Linked DNA regions of Homo sapiens: all the other regions are linked to region 2. Evidence: promoter capture Hi-C in human tissues and cell types (Jung and others, 2019). All regions are on one chromosome and are shown on one strand. The core of a region is centred on a gene start or on the middle of the fragment in contact, and the rest is flanking DNA. Distances in the headings are between cores, read along the strand shown.

The links. Contacts are between HindIII fragments. The study calls those that stand out against the background at their distance.
Region 1: a fragment that was not itself captured here is called in contact with the fragment with the promoter of DDX55 in region 2 in 3 of the 25 tissues and cell types used here (aorta, heart right ventricle and pancreas).
Region 3: the fragment with the promoter of RILPL2 here is called in contact with the fragment with the promoter of DDX55 in region 2 in 1 of the 25 tissues and cell types used here (adrenal gland).

What each region holds. Positions count from the first base shown.
Region 1 is chr12:123,413,119-123,417,394 of GRCh38, reverse strand. RILPL2 (Rab interacting lysosomal protein like 2) reads left to right here. Exons shown (of 4, transcript NM_145058.3): 4 at 1,474-2,356. The coding sequence ends at 1,504. Among named protein-coding and RNA genes, the nearest start is that of RILPL2, 21 kb to the left of the region's middle. The HindIII fragment of the contact is 7,685 bases long and covers 1-4,276 here.
Region 2 is chr12:123,600,288-123,604,584 of GRCh38, reverse strand. It overlaps DDX55 (DEAD-box helicase 55), which reads right to left and starts at 2,486. Exons shown (of 14, transcript NM_020936.3): 1 at 2,329-2,486. The coding sequence starts at 2,436. RefSeq lists an enhancer at 1,725-1,774 and a silencer at 2,015-2,124. The HindIII fragment of the contact is 15,410 bases long and covers 1-4,297 here.
Region 3 is chr12:123,434,325-123,438,835 of GRCh38, reverse strand. It overlaps RILPL2 (Rab interacting lysosomal protein like 2), which reads left to right and starts at 2,152. Exons shown (of 4, transcript NM_145058.3): 1 at 2,152-2,754. The coding sequence starts at 2,416. RefSeq lists a silencer at 2,146-2,405 and an enhancer at 2,247-3,176. The HindIII fragment of the contact is 18,752 bases long and covers 1-4,511 here.

The sequences.
Region 1 (4,276 bases), core at 1,175-3,674, 190 kb after region 2:
CAAAAAGCTCACTCTGGTTGCCTTGTGGAGAAGGGTTGGGAGACAGGGTCAAAGTAAGGCCAATGGGGGTGTTTCTTTTTTCCTTTTTTTTTTTTTGAGATGGGGTCTCACTCTGTCACCCAGGCTGGTGTGCGGTAGCTTGATCTCAGCTCACTGCAACCTCCGCCTCCCAGTTTCAAGCGATCCTCCCACCTCAGCCTCCCGAGTAGCTGGGACCACAGGTGTTCACCATCATGCCCAGCTAATTTTTGTATTTTTGGTAAAGATGGGGTTTCTCCACGTTTCTCAGGCTGGTCTGGAACTCCTGAGCTCAAGCAATCCGCCCGCCTCAGCCTCCCAATGTGCTAGGATTACGGGTGTAAGCCACTGCACCCAGCCTAATGGAAGTGTTTCTTCCACAAGGAAGGGTCTTCTGAGGTAAGATAATGAAAGAGCACCTCCACCCAGGTGTCCGAAGTGAAGGTGTTCATTTAGGACTTTCATTGGCTGTCTTGTTGCAAATCAGGCTTCCAGAAGGCATAAACTACTGGTTTCTTTCAGCGTCCTTCTACGGGAGCTTAGGACACCTAATTGGAGTTTGAGCCTAATAGAGCAAAAGTGAAATGTGTGTTCTGTGCATGAGCTAGCCTGAGGACATGTGGCTAGTGGCTAATGAGCGTGAGGCCACCCTTTCAGGGTCAGATAAACTTAATGAGCTACTAGAATCAATGAGTGAATGAATGAACGAATGAATGTGTTTTTTTGTTTTTGTTTTTGAGACGGAGTCTCAATCTGTCACCCAGGCTGGAGTGCAGTGGCACCATCTTGGCTCACTGCAAGCTCCGCCTCCCGGGTTTATGCCATTCTCCTGCCTCAGCCTCCCGAGGCAGCTGGGACTACAGGCGCCCGCCACCACACCCGGCTAATTTTTTGTATTTTTAGTAGAGACGGGGTTTCACCGTGTGAGCCAGGATGGTCTCGATCTCCTGACCTCATGATCTGCCTGCCTCCGTCTCCCAAAGTGCTGGGATTACAGGCATGAGCCACCGCACCCGGGTTTTTTGGGGTTTTTTTGCTTTTTCTTTTTCTTTTGAGATAGTGTCTTGCTCTGTCGCCCAGGCTGGAGTGCAGTGGCGCAATCTCGGCTCACTGCAACCTCTGCGTCCCGGGTTCAAGCGATTCTCCTGCCTCAGCTTCCTGAGTAGCTGGGATTACAGGTGTATGCCACCACGCCTGGTTAATTTTTTTTTTTTTTTAGAGATGGGGTCTCACTATGCTGCCCAGGCATGTCTGAGACTCCTGGGATCAAGTGATCCTCATCCTCTTGCCTCAGCTTCCCAAAATCATAGGATTACAGGCGTGAGCCACAATGCCTGGCCTGGACATATTTTTGAGTCAACAGCTGCAAGAGCTACTTAGAAATTTTACGGGGGTTGCTGTGCCCCTTGCTTTGTTCCTTCTGCTTACCCTGAACCCTCTCTCTCTCCACACCAGGTTCTTTTTTCGATCGGGGAAACAGACCTAGATCCAAGGCCACAAGTAAGGCTATGGCTCTGATTCTAGAAGACAACCTTCCAAGATGCCTGGCAAAACCACCTCCCTGTGCCACACAGACACACTAGGCCTGTGTATTTATTTCCCCTTCAAAGCAGACTGAGGAGGGAGGAGACGAGGTTCTCTTGGCATCACTTTCTCCCTGGCTGCAGAACTAGACACCCTTGAAGATTTGGCCTGGGCCAGTGAGACTGAAATCAAGAAAAACAGAAGGGATGTGCAGGGTGGGGGGGTCCACTTCCTGCTCCCATGTCAACCCCCAGGGCCTCCAGCGTGCAGACGCGTGTCCTACTCATCTGCTCCCACGGATGACCCTGGTCTTCAATGGTTAGCAGAAGGGAGAAAAGAAAGCAGGAAAATGTGCTATTGAGATTCCAGTGGTGACTTCACTGATATTTAGTGAATATTTGATTTAGCCAACATGCCTTTCTTTATGTGATTTTGTATTAAAGTAAAATGATTTTTATACTTTCTATAGCTTATCTAGAGTGGTCTCTTAGTTACGATGGTACACATGGTATATGTGTGTATATGTCATATATCTACATTTCATTGTATAATGAATCAATTGCATTCATTCAGTCTAAGCGATGCACGATTATCTGGTGTCACTATGAAGGGAAAGATTGCTGCAAACTAAAATGTTAAGAAGCTATCGATTTTAGGACTCATCCTGATTTCAGAGGTGTTAAGATGTGAACAAAATGCATTTAGGAATCAATGAAACAGAGAGCGGGTGTCTGCACTTCGCAAAGGAACTAATGAGGCTGCCGCAACCATTCCGTGAGCCTGTCTTCTTAGTAAATAACAGTGGCTTACTCAATGTGTTTCGCCTGCTCTGTGGATTATCTCATTTGTTCCTCATAACCTGGGGAGATGGGGACCGGTACCGGTGCACCAGTTTATAGATTTTTTTTTTTTTTTTTTTTGAGACGGAGTCTCTCGCTCTGTCGCACAGTCTGGAGTGCAGTGGCACGATCTCGGCTCACTACAAGCTCTGCTGCCTACGTTCACGCCATTCTCTTGCCTCAGCCTCCTGAGTAGCTGGGACTACAGGCACTTGCCACCACACTCGTCTAATTTTTTTGTATTTTTAGTAGAGACAGGGTTTCGCCGTGTTAGCCAGGATGGTCTCGATCTCCTGACCTCGTGATCCACCCGCCTCAGCCTCCCAAAGTGCTGGTGAGAGGTGACAGCGTGCTGGCAGTCCTCACAGCCCTCGCTCGCTCTCGGCGCCTCCTCTGCCTGGGCTCCCACTTTGGCGGCACTTGAGGAGCCCTTCAGCCCACCGCTGCACTGTGGGAGCCCCTTTCTGGGCTGGCCAAGGCCGGAGCCCGCTCCCTCAGCTTGCAGGGAGGTGTGGAGGGAGAGGCGCGAGCGGGAACCGGGGCTGCGCGGGGCGCTTGCGGGCCAGCTGGAGTTCCGGGTGGGCGTGGGCTTGGTGGGCCCCGCACTCGGAGCAGCTGGCGGGCCCTGCCGGCTCCGGGCAATGAGGGGCTTAGCACCCGGGCCAGCGGCTGCTGAGGGTGTGCTGGGTCCCCCAGCAGTGCCAGCCCACCGGCGCTGCGCTCGATTTCTCGCCGGGCCTTAGCTGCCTTCCCGTGGGGCAGGGCTCGGGACCTGCAGCCCGCCATGCCTGAGCCTCCCACCCCCTCCGTGGGCTCCTGTGCGGCCCAAGCCTCCTCCACGAGCCCCACCCCCTGCTCCATGGTGTCCAGTCCCATCAACGACCCAAGGGTTGAGGAGTGCAGGCACAGGGCACGGGACTGGCAGGCAGCTCCATCTGCAGCCCCGGTGCGGGATCCACTGGGTGAAGCCAGCTGGGCTCCTGAGTCTGCTGGGGACGTGGAGAACCTTTGTGTCTAGCTCAGGGATTGTAAATACACCAATCGGCACTCTGTATCTAGCTCAAGGTTTGTGAACACACCAATCAGCACCCTGTGTCTAGCTCAGGGTTTGTGAATGCACCAATCGACATTCTGTATCTAGCTACTCTGGTGGGGCCTTGGAGAACCTTTGTGTCCACACTCTGTATCTAGCTAATCTGGTGGGGACGTGGAGAACCTTTGTGTCTAGATCAGGGATTGTAAACGCACCAATCAGCGCCCTGTCAAAACAGACCACTTGGCTCTACCAATCAGCAGGATGTGGGTGGGGCCAGATAAGAGAATAAAAGCAGGCTGCCCCAGGCAGCAGTGGCAACCCGCTCGGGTTCCTTTCCGCATTGTGGAAGCTTTGTTCTTTTGTTCTTTGCAATAAATCTTACTACTGCTTACTCTTTGGGTCCACACTGCTTTTATGAGCTGTAATACTCACCCCGAAGGTCTGCAGCTTCACTCCTGAAGCTAGGGAGACCAGGAGCCCACCAGGAGGAACGAGCAACTCCAGACGCGCCGCCTTAAGAGCTGTAACACTCACCACGAAGGTCTGCAGCTTCACTCCTGAGCCAGCGAGATCACGAACCCACCAGAAGGAAGAAACTCCGAACACATCTGAACATCAGAAGGAACAAACTCTGGACACGCCACCTTTAAGAACTGTAACACTCACCGCGAGGGTCCGCGGCTTCATTCTTGAAGTCAGTGAGACCAAGAACCCACCAATTCCGGACACACTGGGATTACAGGCGTGAGCCACCGCACCCGGCTTTTTTTTGGGGGGTGGTGGGGACGGAGTCTTGCTCTATCGCCCAGGCTGGAGTGCAGTGGCACCATCTGGGTTCACTGCAATCTCTGCCTCCCAG
Region 2 (4,297 bases), core at 1,237-3,736:
GATGACTGTGTAGTGGATGACAGGTCTAGACAATGAGCTCTGAGGCCAGAGATTGGGTCTTGCTCGCACTACATTCCCTAGGCAGGGCACATAGCACTCCCAGTTTTCATCTCCAGCCCTGCCTGCTGGAAATACATTCTCCACATTCCCGGGAATCTTATGGGCATCTCAAACTCAAGACTTCATTTATTTAAAAAAAATTTTTGTGATGACAGGGCCTCCCTATGTTGCCCAGGCTGGTCTTGAACTCCTGATCTCAAGTGATCCTCCCACCTTGGTCTCCAAAAGTGCTAGGATTACAGGCGTGAGCCACCGTGCCCGGCCATTATTTATTTTAATTTCGAAGATGCGGGTCTCACTATGTTGCTCAGGCTGGTCTTGAACTCCTGGGCTCAAGGGATCCTCCCACCTCAGCCTTCCAAACAAATGGTACTACAGGCGGGTGCCACTGTACCCAGCTCAGTGTTTAAAAACAGGACTCTTGTGGTCAGGCGCAGTGGCTCACTCCTGTAATCCCAGCACTTTGGGAGGCCAAGGCGGGCGTACCTGAGGTCAGGAGTTCAAGACCAGTCTGGCCAACATGGCGAAATCCCGTCTCTACTAAAAACACAAAAATTAGCCAGGCGTGGTGGTGTATGCCTGTAACCCCAGCTACTTGGAAGGCTGAGATGGGAGAATAGCTTGAACCCGGGAGGCAGAAGTTGCAGTGAGCCGAGATCGTGTCATTGCACTCCAACCTGGGCAACAGAGAAAGATTCCGTCTCAAAAAAGTTAAAAACAAACAAACAAACAAAAAACAAAAAAAAGAACTCTTGACTTTCCCTCTGAAACCTGATACGCACGCCAGTCATTCTTGGGAAATGGTAACACCATTCACTCAGCTACTAATAAAAATCAGCCGGGTGCGGTAGCTCAGCCTGTAATCCCAGCACTTTGGGAGGCCAAGGCGGGTGGATCAGGAGGTCAGGAGTTCAAGACCAACCTGGCCGAGATGGTGAAACCCCGTATCTACTAAAAATACAAAAAATTAGCCGGGCATGGTGGCAGGCACCTGTGATCTCAGCTACTTGGGAGGTTCAGGCAGAGAATTGCTTGAACCCAGGAGGCGGAGGTTGCAGTGAGCCGAGATCGCGCCACTGCACTCCAGCCTGGGCAACAGAGCGAGACTCCATCTCAAAAAAAAAAAAAAAAAGAATAAAAACCTCAGGTCCTGTAGTCTTTTCTTTCCTAACCTCCACTTCCAGTCCCTTAGCAACCTTAAAGCTATCCCAAATGTGACTTCTCAGTATCCACTGGTTCCACCCTACTCCAAGTCACCATCATCTCTTACCTGACAATGGCCTCCTAAGCGACCTGCCTGCTTCATCTCTTATGCCTGGAAAGGCCACTCTCTACAGAGAAATCACAGCCCTTCCCTTCCTAAACATCCTCCCAGATAAGATGGCTTCCCACTACATTTAGAATGAAATCCAAGCGCCTACAAGACCCTGCACAATCCATCTCTTACACTACTCTTGATGTTCAGCCACAAAGGCCTCCTTTCTGCTGCTCAAACTATTTGCAGCCTGCCGCAGGGCATTTATGTGCACTGGTATTTCTCTCCAGTGGAATAATCTCCCCCTAGTCACCTCAGAGCCAGCTCCTTCTCAATCACTGAGGTCTCAGCTCAATGCACCTCCTCAGAGAGGCCTTCCTTAACACCCTATCTCACCTCCTCTGCAGTCCTCGCGCGACACTATCACAACCGTCTTAGTTCTTTCATAACACTTACCAGCAGCTGAAATTATCCTTTCTCTAGCTCTTGCACTAGAAAGTAAGGCTATGAGCAGATGCCAATACTGCAAACTCCCCAGAGCCTAGAAGAGTTCCTGACACATAGCAGGTCCTCAAGAAATATTCTTGAAGAGATGCATAACAACGGTAACCCTTACTGAGCTCCCATAGTGTGCCGACTGGTTTATTTAGTCCCCACAGCAACCCCATAAGGAGGGTGTTATTTTTTCGTCATTTCACAGAGAAGGAAAATGAAGCACGGAGAGGTTAAGCCATTTGCCCGAGGTCTCACAGCTACAGCGAGCAGGGCCAGGATGAGAACCAGGCTTGAGACCACAGCACCCGAGGGCGGGGTGGGTCGCGGCCCCTCTGCCGGCTCGCTGGCCGGGCAGCTCCGCATTCCGCCAGTCTGGGCAGCTGGAGACAAGGCAAGAGCCCCAGCTGGAGGGATGAGCGCCCCAGGGCTCAGATCTGTCCGATCACCTCCTGTGGGTCCGATGCAGCGGGTGCCTGCCCCTCTCCCAGCCTCACTCCCCCACGCCAGGGAACCGATACCTGCACCGGCGTCATGTACGGGAAGCCCAGCTCCCGCAGCGCGCCCAGCACCTGCGGGTGCAGCGGCACAGGCAGCGACTCCCAGGAGCCCTCTGTCACATGCTCCATGGCGCGCTCCTTCGCCGCGTCGGTCGCCGCTGCTCGAACGCGCCTTGTGCACCCCCAACGAGCACTTCCGCTTCCCGCAGCTCCAGCGGCCGGCCGGGAACTTCGCTGGAGCAGCAGAGTTCCGGAGCGCGGCGAAGGCTCCCACGCCGCGGGAGGGAGGAAAGGCGTCCGCGGGACGGTGGAGGCAGGCGGCGGGGCAGGCCTGGGGAGTTACACCCGCTCCGCACAGCGCCCTGGGCTCCGGGCGCCTCTCCGCACCGGGCAGGAGTTTTGGCGGGAGGGATTCTGGCCCGGCCCTCCCACTTTCTCTGCCCCTCGGAGGCAGGTGGCAGCACAGGACCGCGTCCAGGCCGAAGGACAGCGGGGCTGGCTACCGTGGGCAGAGAAACGTGTCGGGGACCCGGGTTAGCAGCCCTGCAAAACAGGCACCCGCTGATGGCCGGTACGTCCTGAATGTTGCGGTCCGATGGCCGGTACGTCCTGAATGTTGGTTTACTTTCCCGGAAGTTAGGGTCAGAGTCCTAACTAAGAACACTGTCCCATTCCTCTGTTCACTGTTTGCCTGGGCCATTCATGTCCACATACAACTTCACTCAGAAAGCTGTTTTTGTTGTTGTTGTTGTTGTTGTTGTTGTTTGAGACGGAGTCTCGCTCTGTTGCCCAGGCTGGAGGCTGGGCGCTATAACGGTTCACTGCAAGCTCCGCCTCCCGGGTTCACGCCCTTCTCCTGCCTCAGCCTCCCGAGTACCTGGGACTGCAGGCGCCCTCCACCACGCCCGGCTAATTTTTTGTATTTTTAGTAGAGACGGGGTTTCACCGTGTTAGCCAGGATGGTCTCGATTTCCTGACCTCGTGATCCGCCCGCCTCGGCCTCCCAAAGTGCTGGGATTACAGGCGTGAGCCACCGCGCCCGGCCTTCACTCAGCAAACTTTTATTGACCACTCATTATGTGCCCTCTATGAGGGCCTATCTCCTCCACCTATGTGCATGGCTTGCTCCTGTTGAGGCTCTGAAAACGAAACCCCAAAATGAAGGCCCCAGAGGCAGCCTCAGAAGCAAGTTTCTCTCTGACCTTCTGCTCCCTCTCTGATCTCTGATTCTCTGAGGCTAGCCATAGAAACTCAAGAATCCCTCTTGCCCATGACGGAGCATAGAAACAGGAATCCCTTTTCTCCACAGTCAGCCATAAAACCTAAAAATATTACTCTCTCTCCACCTTTCTGTGAAAAAACTGGCCATAAAGAAATTATTGGCCTGGCACGGTGGCTCACGCCTGTAATCTCACCACTTTGGGAGGCCAAAGCGGGCAGATCTCAAGGTCAGGAGTTCGAGACCAGCCTGGCCAATATGGTGAAACCCCGTCTCTACTAAAAATACAGAAATTAGCCAGGCGTGGTGGCGCATGCCTGTAGTCCCAGCTACTCAGGAGCCTGAGGCAGAAGAATCGCTTGAACCAGGGAGGTGGAGGTTGCGCCACTGCACTCCAGCGTGGGTGACAAAGCGAGACTCAGTCTCAAAAAAAAAAAGAAAAAGAAATTATCTGGGCTAGGTGCGGTGGCTCATGCCTGTAATCCCAGCACTTTGGGAGGCTGAGGCAGGCGGATCACCTAAGGTAAGGAGTTTGAGACCAGCCTGGCCAACGTAGTGAAACCCTGTCTACTAAAAATACAAAAAATTAGCCAGGTGTGGTGGCAGGTGCCTGCAGCTACTCCGGAGGCTGAGCTACAAGCATCGCTTGAACCTGAGAAGTGGAGGCTGCAGTAATCCTAGATCGCACCATTGCATTCCAGCCTGGGCGACAGAGTGAGACTCAGTCTCAAAAAACAAACAAACAAACAAACAAACAAACAAAAAAAGGCC
Region 3 (4,511 bases), core at 903-3,402, 170 kb after region 2:
ACACCCGGCTAATTTTTTTTGTATTTTTAGTAGAGACAGGGTTTCACCGTGTTAGCCAGGATGGTCTCGGTCTCCTGACCTCGTGATCCGCCCATCTCGGCCTGACTTTTTTATTTTATAAAAGTAAAATAGGCCAGGCAGGGTGGCTTACGCCCGTAATCCTAGCACTTTGGGAGGCCCAGGTGGGAGGATTGCCCGAGCTCAGGAGTTCGCGACCAGCCTGGGCAGCACAGTGAAACCCCATCTCTACTAAAATACAAAAAATTAGCCAGGCGGGGCGGCATGCGCCTGTGGTCCCAGCTACTGGGGAGGCTGAGGTAGAAGAATTGCTTTAACCAGGGAGGCGGAGGTTGCGGTGAGCCGAGATCATGCCACTGAGCTCCAGCCTGGGCAACAGAGCAAGATTCTGTCTCTAAATAAATAAATAAACAAATAAATAAAATAAAATAAAATAAAATAAAAAGAAACGACCCTCTGAAAATAGTGTGTTTTGTTAATTTGCTTTGCTTTTGTTGGTTGGTTTAATCTATGTACATTCTCCATTGAGATTCTAGTACCTCAGTGTGGAGAAAATGGATACACCTATCACAAGGAAAGCTGCCAATACATTCCTGGGAAAGACAAGCCCCGTTGCTGAGCTTTCTGCCTGAGACTATCACAAACCTCCAGTGAAACCTAAAATAACTTGAGATTTGTTGTGCCTTTTTTTTTGAGACATGATCTTACTCTGTCACCATGGTCCCACTCTGTCACAGGCACCACTCTGTGGTGAGATCTTGGCTCACTGCAGCCTCAACATCCCGGGCTCAAGTGGTCCTCCCACCTCAGCCTCCCGAGTACCTGCCACTACAGGCATGAACCACTGTGTCCAGCTACTTTTGTTTACTTTTTGTAGAGACAGGGTCTCACTATGATGCCCAAGCTAGTCTCAAATTCCTGGGCTCAAGCAATCCTCCTGCGTCAGCCTCCTGAAGTGTTGAGATTAAGGCATGAGCCACAGCGAATGACTCAAGTTTCTACGCCACTCTGCTAATATTCTCAGTAATATGGATTCCGCATATGTGTCGAATGCTTTGTGATTTTCAGACAGGGGTTTCTCTCTTGTTAATTACTCCTCCTTCTCTCACCCAAGTAGCAAGGTGTCTCCAACACCAGCAATTCCTCCCTAGCGCTGTGGAAGAAAGAATGAAGGGGCCGGGCGCGGTGGCTCACGCCTGTAATCCCAGCACTTTGGGAGGCCGAGGCAGGTGGATCACGAGGTCAGGAGATCGAGACCATCCTGGCGAACATGGTGAAACCCCGTCTCTACTAAAAATACAAAAAAATTAGCCGGGCGTGGTGGCGCGTGCCTGTAGTCCCAGCTACTCGGGAGGCTGAGGCAGGAGAATGGCGTGAACCTGGGAGGCGGAGCTTGCAGCAAGCCGAGATCGCGCCACTGCACTCCAGCCTGGGCGACACAGGGAGACTCCGTCTCAAAAAAAAAAAGAAAGAAAGAAAGAAAGAAAGAATGAAGGATTGCAGTCACGTATGTGAGTGCTTCCTAAGTGCTTGAGGTGTCGCACACATGATCTCATAAGCTCATGTTCCTCGCAGCAACCCTGCCACCTGGGTCCCGCTATTGTCCCCATTTTACAGAGGAGGAGACTGAGGCTCGGAGACGTTAAGTAACTTGCCAAGGTGACAGCGCTGGTTACGTGGAGGAGCCGAGGACCCAGCGAAGTGAGCAGGGCAGACATTCTCCATTTTATTGAGAGTCACAGCGAAGTCGGACGCCCCAGGCCCTAGTGACAATTTGCCTGGGAGTTTTCCAGATCCTCAAGCCTCGGGGACTCTGTCGCGCTGCCCCCAGCAGCTGCTTTCTGTTTGGCCGCAGGCTCCAGAAAACACCCTCAAAGAGACACCCGGATCTTCCATCACCTACGATGCAAATTCTACGGCTGGAAAGCACGAGGGTGGAAAGGAAAAAGTTGCGTTCTTTTTACCCCGCTCTGGATTGCACGGTGGAAACTCCGTCTCCACGGAAACGCACCTCCTGGCAGCGGTCGCCAGGGGCGGGGCTCAGGGCGGCTCCTCCCCGGGGCTGCAACTGTTCCCAGGCTGGGGCGATTGCCGTCACCCCTGAACTTCCCCGTTCCTCTTCTCGGCTGCCTCCTTTTCCGTTGTCCCTTCGCGCCCCAAACCACATCCTGGAGCGCACTCTCCAGCGTGGCTGGCAGCGGGGACGGTGCGCCGGGGCGCAGGCCCAAGAGTCGCGTGCGCGGCCCCTTGCACCATCCCCCCGGGCCCACCCCCGGGCCGCGCTGATTGGGCAGGTAGGGACTCTGCCCAGCGGAAAGTTTTGGGTGCCGGGAGGAAGTCTAACCTTTGGGAGACTCCAAGACAGCAGCTCCGAGGTCGGCGGGGGTCTGGGTGGCCATGGAGGAGCCCCCTGTGCGAGAAGAGGAAGAGGAGGAGGGAGAGGAGGACGAGGAGAGGGACGAGGTTGGGCCCGAGGGGGCGCTGGGCAAGAGCCCCTTCCAGCTGACCGCCGAGGACGTGTATGACATCTCCTACCTGTTGGGCCGCGAGCTTATGGCCCTGGGCAGCGACCCCCGGGTGACGCAGCTGCAGTTCAAAGTCGTCCGCGTCCTGGAGATGCTGGAGGCGCTGGTGAATGAGGGCAGCCTGGCGCTGGAGGAGCTGAAGATGGAGAGGGACCACCTCAGGAAGGAGGTGGAGGGGCTGCGGAGACAGAGCCCTCCGGCCAGCGGGGAGGTGAGTGTGGGAGCGAGGGTTCCGGGCCCACGGCGCCTGCGGGGCGTAGGAGGGCACCTACTGGCAGGGAGACGCCTTCCTTTTCTTTTCTCTTCTCTTTTCTCTTTTTTCTTTTTTTAAGAGATGGGATCTCGCTGTGTTGCCCAGGCTGGTCTCAAACTCCTGGCTCCAAGTGATCCCCCAGCCTCAGCCTCCTAGAGTGCTGGGTTTACAGGTGTGAGCCACCCTGCCTGGCCAGAATCTGTATTTCTAACGAGTTCGCAGTTAATGCTGATGCTATTGGCCCAGGGTCCACAGTTTGAGAACCTTTGACCTAGAGCAAGAAACACTTTTTTTTTCTTTTGACACAGGGTCCTGCTCTATCTCCCAGGCTAGAGTGCAGTGGTGCAAACACGGCTCACTACAGCCTTGGCCTCCTAGGCTCAAGCAATTCTCCTGCCTTGCCCTTCCAAGTAGCTGGGAGTACAGGCATGTGCCACCATGCCTGGCTAACTTTTTTGATGTTTTGTAGAGATGGGGGTCTCACCGTTACCCAGGCTGGTCTCAAACTCCTAAGCTCAAGGAATCCTCCCACCTTGGCCTCCCAAAGTGCTGGGCTTGTGGATGTGAGCCACCACACTTGGACAAGAAACACATTTTACCTAAAGAGAAATTAGTGCATATGACCACAAAAAGACATAGACAAGAAGATTCAGAGCAGCTTTAGTCTCAGCTGCCAAACTGGAAACACTCTAAATGCAACCCAATTGAGTTTTGAAATTGTGATATATGGAATACTATGCAACAGAGAAAAAGAACGGGGTGCTGATACACACAGCAGTGTGAATGAATCTCACAGATGTAACATTGAGAGAAAGAAGCCAGGCACTAAAGAGAAACTACTGTAGATTTTTTTTTTTTTTGAGTCAGAATCTTGCTCTGTTGCTCAGACTGTAGTGCAGTGGCGTGACCTCGACTCACTGCAACCTCCACCTCCTGGATTCAAGCGATTCTCCTGCCTCAGCCTCCTGAGCAGCTGGGATTGCAAGCGTGTGCCACCACGCGTGGCTATTTTTTTTTTTTCTTTTTTGGTAGAGACGGGGTTTCACCATGTTGGCCAGGCTGGTCTCAAACTCCTGGCCTCAAGTGACCCACCCACCTCAGCCTTCCAAAGTGCTGGGATTACAGGCCTGAGCCACAGCACCCAGCCCTACTGTACATTTAAATAAAATTCATGAACAGGCAAAATAATTTATAGTTATAGAAGGCAAACTGGTGGTGGGGGGAAAAGAAGGGAAATTGATAGAGAGCTAGAAGTGTCCCATATCTTAATCAGGGTATGGATATAGGGATCTACACATATGTTAAAAATCATCTGGCTGGGTGCTGTGACTCACGCCTGTAATCCCAGCACTTTGGGAGGCCAAGGCGGGCAGATCACAAGGTCAGGAATTTGAGACCAGCCTGGCCAACATGGTGAAACTCTATCTCTACTAAAACTACAGAAAAAAATTAGCCGGGCGTGGTGGCGGGTGCCTGTAATCCCAGCTACTCGGGAGGCTGAGGCCGGAGAATTGCTTGAAACCGGAAGGCAGAGGTTGCAGTGAGCCGAGATCGCGCCACTGCACTCCAGGTTGGGTGACAGAGCGAGATTTTGTCTCAAAAAAAAAAAAAAAGTCTTTTTTGCGGGGACAGCTTTCTCTGTCATCCAGGCTGGAATACCATGGTGTGATCACAGCTCACTGAGGCCTCAAACTCCTGGGCTCAAGCAGTCCTCC